Regions from separate parts of the Homo sapiens genome. Here region 2 is linked to region 1. The links are contacts of gene promoters, found by promoter capture Hi-C in human tissues and cell types (Jung and others, 2019). All regions are on one chromosome and are shown on one strand. Each heading gives the region's core, a stretch centred on a gene start or on the middle of the fragment in contact. The rest is flanking DNA. Distances are from core to core; before and after follow the strand shown.

Region 1 (3,362 bases), core at 515-3,014:
TCTTGTTTATTTTTGTTTGAAAAAGTAAAAGGCTCTCTTTTTGGCTATAGAGTTGCATCTTGAAATTTTTGACAAATTACATAGAGCTGAAGAAGGATACAAGTTTTGATATCTTAAAATCACAGGGTTGAAGCTTGAAAGGACAGTATTGGCATTGCAGCTAAGTGGGAGTGTGAGGAAGCGCCTTCTCTAGGGCAGGTAATTGCATCTGTTAATGTGGTCCTTGGGCCCCTGAGTTGCTGCCTTCCAATCAGAATTCCCTTAGCATTAGCCAGTGACGCCTGAATTAATCTCAGGTAGGACTTCTAACTTTTTTCCAAAATTATTTTTGTGCAGAGGTTTATCTAGATTTTTCTTCTAAATGTCCTCCTCCCCACTTGTTTTATTATTACTGTTTTTTTCTCTCTTTAATTTTTTTTTTTTTTTAATAGAGACATGGTCTCACTATGTTGCCTGGGCTGATCTCAGACTCCTGGGCTCAAGTGATCCTCCTGCCTCAGCTTCCCAAAGTGCTGGGATTATAGGCGTGAGCCATTGCGCCTGGCTCTGTTACTGTTTTTCTAACCTGAGTTACTTAGGATCATATTTTCATTCTTTTTTAAAAAGATGGGAGTTTTCTGAACTTTTCCTTAACTAAAAAGTGGAATGCATCTTAATATTTTCCTTTTTTTACTTGTGTTTCTCCCCAGGGAGGGAAAAACATATTTATTGTGACAGAATTTAGCATATTTTAGGCCACATTAAAATACTGATAAATGTATTAATCAGTGAAAATAGGTTATAGTGAAAAATATATACCATTTGATTAATAAAAATGTTATTGGAAAAATGCAAGAACTGCTGTAAGAATTGCTAACATTGTGTTGGAAAATAAATATACTAAGCTAAGAAACAATGGGAAACTGTCATATGTAGGGCCAACAGCCTTTTTTTTTTTAAACCCTTCCAATTTATTAATATCTAGTCTAATAAACCCTGATTTATAGGACCTCTGCACCTTTTTTGACTTTTTATTCATCCATTCTTAATATTCTACACTATGACAAAATCCTTAAAACTCCATTATTGATGAAATGGGAACAGACTTTTGTTTTTGTATGTTGGTGTTCTCTGAGTGGTGAAGGCCCAGGGAGAATGTTTTGTTTGGTGGTCACTTAGCATTTGAAAACATCCACTTCCTTGTGACTTAGCTGGGTATCTTTTAACATCTGGAAGCCACGTCCCTGATTGAAATCTCTGGAGACAACTTACCTTTCACCAACTTGTCTGCCAAATTGCACCATGGACCAAGATTGCAGTGGCTGCATCAAGTCTAGGCCTGCCCTGAAGTCTGGATTTGTAAGTCCCCCATTTCAAATGGGGCAGAAGGCAGAGGAGCAGAGGAGCCACTGTGCCTTTCGCTGTCCTGGAGCCAGTTGGCCTTCTGGTTTTGGTGAACCCTGCTTTTATAAGAGGACTCCCTGGCATCTTCCAGTTTCCCGCTACTTGTTTTATGTATTATTTTATGTCTGTGTTTGTCCTGGAGTGCTGTAACTCCTTTCACTGTCTGCTGTAAGTTCAACTTCTTCAATAAAAGAAATGTTTCAAATTGGATGAAAAATGGTTCTGTGATTATGGTTTGTGGGACGGGTTCTGATGCTTCATTTATGTTCTTCATACGGAATTCTGTCTCATTTCCCTAGTTCTAAATATGACCAGCAGACCCAGAGTTCCATCTCGACTTCATAAAGGAGCTGTCTTGGACTGGGAACAGCTGCCAATGTCTTTGTTGAGATGGGAGTTGGAAAGTGTTAGCACTTTGCCAGACTTTGCCAGCAAGATTAACTGAGGAGATCAAATTGAGTCAGGGTGAGTGAGGGTTTTAGGTGAAAGTTGCTCTCCAAAAGATTGGATACCTCTGCTGAAGACCTCTGCCTGACCTCCAAGGCTGGAGAGCAGCTCTTATCTGTGTCCTGGCTGGCTTTCAATGCATGTATCCTTAAGTCATCTGCCTCTACAAATTCGTACAAACCACTCGTTCCCCTCTCATCCCTAGCATGTTCCCCTAGTGGCTGCTCTGAATTCTCACCCCTGTTCTGGATGGTACTCTCCCACCTGCCTTGCCCTGCCCCTCTTCCGTCAGCTCCGGACAGGTCAACTTTAGGGAATAGATTGAGGCAGATGGATGTGACTTCTGATCTGACCTGTTCTCCAATTCTAAATATCAACCGAGTTTTACATCTCAGCCTTCCCTTCCTTCCCTTCAGAGTTGGAGGAATGGTACTTGTCTTGGCCTCTCCCCTCTTGCTTTTGCCCTTTTCTTTTGGGTGGTCTCTGTTGGCAGCAACCAGCACTTTTTTTCCCATTTGGCGTTTTACCTCTGTTCATGAACATACATAGAACCACTTTCTCCTGGTGAAAGACATTTATCTTACAAAATATTTAGTTTTGAAATAATTAAAAATATATAAATAGTTGTAAGACTACTACAAAGAACTTCCCTTTGTCCAGATAGACTAATTGTGAACATTTTGCCACATTTGTGTTATTATACATGTTACTTGTTAAACCATTTGAGAATTACAGACATCATGCCCTTTTACCCCTAAATACTTTTCAGTGTACATTTCCTGAAACAAGGACATTCTCATAACCACAATACAGTTATCAAAAGCAGAAAACATTAATATGCTATCTAATAATATAGAGTCCATGTTCAAATTTTACATAATTTCACCAAATAACAGCCCTTGCAGCATTTTTGTTTTTTCCCAATCGGATTCAATTCAGAATCGTGCATTGCCTTTAGTTGTTGGGTCTCTTGAGTCACCTTTCATCTCTAACAGTTCCTTAGCCTTTCTTTGGTTTACATGGCATTTTATTTTGGCCAGGCGCGGTGACTCACGCCTGTAATCCCAGCACTTTGGGAAGCCAAGGCGGGCGGAAAGCACTTGAGGCCAAGGAGTTTGAGACCAGCCTGGCCAACATGGAGAAATCCTGTTTCTACTAAAAATACGAAAGTTAGCTGGGCATGGTGGCGTGCACCTATAATCCCAGCTACTGAGGAGGCTGAGGCATGAGAATCATCAGAATCTGGGAGGTGGAGGTTGCGGTGAGCTGAGATTGAGCCACTGCATTCCAGCCTGTGACAGAGTGAGACTCTCAAAAATAAAAGCAAAAAAAAACCCAGTTATTTTGTAGAATATCCTGTAATGTGGGTTTGTCTGTTTCCTTATGATTAGATTCAGATCATGTATTTTTTTGGCAATAATACTACTGAAGCATTGTGCCCTGCATGTATCGGATCAGGAGGTGTGTGATGGATGTCATTTTGTTCCATCGCTGATGGTGGTAACTTTTTTTTTTTTTTTTTTTTTTTTTTT
Region 2 (3,362 bases), core at 330-2,829, 350 kb after region 1:
CCAGAACCCATGTGCTGATTCCCTGTAATCTTCCCACAATAAATTTTTAGCAGCTCTGAACTGCAAACTGTCCAGCTTCCACAGCGCCATGTGGATGGGGGCAACGTGGCCAGAGATGATGGTGGGTCTGGTCATGATAACAAAAGTATGAAAAGCAGGGGAGGATACTTGGGTTGATTTATCCATTATCTCATAAACATCTGAACACTCTGGTATGATGTTTCCCAAAGGCTAATTAAAATTTTAAAAAGGTTTCCTGTCTTGTCTGGGATGTTTTCTGAACTGATTTTTTGACCTTGAGTGGCTCCATCCTCTTGGCCACAGTCTCATCACTGTGCAGTGGGAATGTTGGTCTCATCTTCCCAGCGCCCTCAGGCAGGAACAGCCTACAAAGTTGTGACTTATGGGAGAAACCTTATCCTGGCCCTGGTAACTCCATTTTTCTTCCCTGTATCACCAAACTTCCCAAAACATATGCTGCTATTCACTGCCTCTCCTTCCTCACCTTCAACCTCTGGTCATTTTTTAAGATGGAGTTTTGCTCTGTCATCCAGGCTGGAGTGCAGTGGTGTGATCTCGGCTCACTGCAACCTCCGCCTTCCGGGTTCAAGAAATTCTCCTGCCTCAGCCTCCTGAGTAGCTCAGACTACAGGCGTGTGCCACCATGCCCAGCAAATCTTTGTATTTTTAGTAGAGATGGGATTTCACCATGTTGGCCAGGCTGGTCTTAAATTCCTGGACTCAAGTGATCCACCTGCCTCAGCCTCCCAAAATGCTGGGATTACAGATGTGAGCCACTGCAACCGGCCATCATTTTTTTTTTCTTTTCTTTTTCTTTCTTTTTTTTTTTTTTTTTTTTTACAATATGGCTTCCTTCTCCAAAGTATTATTCTAATTTAATTCTCATGATAAACCTAGGAAGTAACTGTTGTTTTCCCTTGAATAAGTGAGAAAACTGAGGCTCAAAGAGGTGCAGTGATGTGTGCAAGCTGCACCTCTAAGAATGAGAGAGTCAGGACTCAAACTTACGTCTGCCTTAGAATGAAAGTCTGGGTCCTCACTGGGCCTGTGGGCACACTGTTTGTGTCCATATGCATGTTCCTGACCCCGTCCCCACCACTCTCCCCTTGTCTCACTTGCTCTGGTCACACTGGCTTTCTTGTGCTGCCTCCTCAGCTTGTTCCAACCTCAGGGCTGAACACTGGGCTGGATTTTTATCTGTCCTGTTCACTGCTTGGCACATGGAGGGGCTTAGTGAAACCTGCCAACTCCCTGATAAAGGCTCCCTCCTGGGAGCTGCCACACACTGCACAATAGCATGGAGAATGTCACCCTCAGAGTCACACAATCCCTCTCCCAAAGACAGCTCCCCAATTCCCAGAGGATCCGGGTGAAGAAATTTAGTGCTGCAGCTATCTCCAGCAACCACGAGAATTTAGGATCAGGTAAAGCAAAATGAGCAAATATGGGGTGACATGTGTTGGAGAAAATTACTAAAAGGGGGATTGGGATCCAAAAGCAGAAAATGGAAGAAGAGAGAAAGCAAGTTTGGTCCCTTTGAGAAACGCAGCAGGAAGCAGAAGAGAAGCCAAGTTGGCTGAAGAATAAAATTAATGATCAAACAGGTTGAATGTGCATTTTTAAAAGAAGGACCCATGCCGGTTTCCTCTTCCTACTGGCTGACATTTAAGGGCAGGTGAGGCTGTGCCTGGCTGGTTATCCTTAATGACCTGCCTTGCTCCTTTCCTCCTGAGAACACTCCTGCTATGTAAGCCCCGGGACTTGACAGGTTGGTTCCTGCCCCCTTGTGGTCCAGAGTGTTCATGGTTATGGTGAGACCTGCAGTCTTCAGTCTATCTGGTGGTTCAACTCACTGAAAATGTTGGTATTTGCCATGTGTGTTCCACGGAATCTTATTGGCCTCTGTAGTATATAAGAGGAAATGCAGCCGGACAGAACAAGCTTGCAGACCCCTGCGAGGGAAGGTTAAGGGCTGTAAGTGAATTTATCCAGAAACAAGGTAGAGCCTATCAGAGCCAGGCAGCCCAAGTTCAAATCCTAGCTCCACATTATCAGCTGTGTGTCCTTAGACAAGTGTCTCCAGAGTCAGGGCTCAACATCCATCTGCCCTTATTATTCTTCCTGCCTCTCCTTGCAATGCTTGTGCCTGGGGGAATGGGGGCTGAGGATCATGTTGGGCAGCAGAATGGGGTGTGGGATGAAGCAGTTGGTGGGGAATGAGCAACAGCTCCTCTGAGCTCCCTTCTGCAGGCCAGGCTACCTGGTTCCCATCTGAGCCCCACCCCTCCCCAGCTGGGTGGATTTGGGGATTTTACTTAACATTTCTGTGCCTCTGCAAAAGGAGGCCAATAATAACAGTGCCTACTGCAAAGGGTTGTGTTGAGAATTCAATAAGTCATTACAGGTAAAGCACTTAGCTTGCCCCTGGAGCTCAGTCAGCACTCAATAACTGTTAGCTGGTATCACTGTTATTATTTCAGCTAAGTGATCTTCACACACCGTGTGCATCAGAATTGTCCAGAAGCTTATTCCCAGGATCCCCCTCAGAGAGCCTGACTCAATTCATCAGAGGTGACCTAAGAATCTGCATTTTTACAAGTCCCATCTCTCCCTCCAAAATTCGGTGATGCTCCCCTGGAAATTCCAGCATTTCCATTTTCCCTTTGCCCTCTCCAGGCTACCCTCAGAACCCAGAAAAGGTCAACTCTTCCTTTGTGAAACCCAATATGCCATTCAGAAACGGTCCCCACTCTCTCTTCCCCTGCCATTTTAAGGAAATTCGCCTTTGGATTAAGGTTCCAGCCCCTAGTTCTGTACAGTTGTTAGGCATATGTATGTTAAACACATATATATGTGTGTGTGTGTGTGTGTATATATATATACATATACATATATATGTGTGTGTATATATATATATCTTTTATATATATATAAAAGAATGGAATGAATGAATGACTAGATGAATAATGAATTCCATTCCTTAGAAGAGTAACTCTCAAAGTATGGACTGAACCCCCTGCATCATCTCTCTAGGGTGTTCATTCCAAAGGCAGCTCCCAGCACCTCCCCCCAGCCCCCACTAAATCAGATTCAGGAATCTGCATTTAATGCTTCTGCCTCCTCTGCTGTTCCCTGGAGTTTGGGGACCTCTGCCTTTTGCTAGGGACCTGGAATTTCCTTAGAGCCCCAAGGAGGGGAAGTGGCCACCCCAATTGGCCGTTAGAGATCACAGGTGTGCATAAGCCTGCTTGGCCCGGAGTTCTGCCAAGGGAGGTTCCTGCCTCCTTGTCCCACTGGACAGCTCTTCCTGCAGCCAGGGATGTGAGACAGGCCCTCTCCCT

The links. The method cuts DNA at HindIII sites, captures the fragments that hold promoters and counts their contacts. A contact is called where the count stands out against the background at its distance.
Region 2: a contact is called between a fragment that was not itself captured here and the fragment with the promoter of EFCAB8 in region 1, in 2 of the 25 tissues and cell types used here (bladder and dorsolateral prefrontal cortex).

Annotation. Positions count from the first base shown.
Region 1 is chr20:32,857,159-32,860,520 of GRCh38, forward strand. It overlaps EFCAB8 (EF-hand calcium binding domain 8), which reads left to right and starts at 1,765. Exons shown (of 27, transcript NM_001143967.2): 1 at 1,765-1,848. LOC119746555 (a long non-coding RNA gene) reads left to right here. Exons shown (of 1, transcript NR_171378.1): 1 at 1-1,593. RefSeq lists an enhancer at 1,632-2,444. The HindIII fragment of the contact is 16,025 bases long and covers 1-3,362 here.
Region 2 is chr20:33,210,210-33,213,571 of GRCh38, forward strand. It overlaps the pseudogene BPIFA4P. Among named protein-coding and RNA genes, the nearest start is that of BPIFA3, 5.5 kb to the right of the region's middle. The HindIII fragment of the contact is 4,421 bases long and covers 1-3,362 here.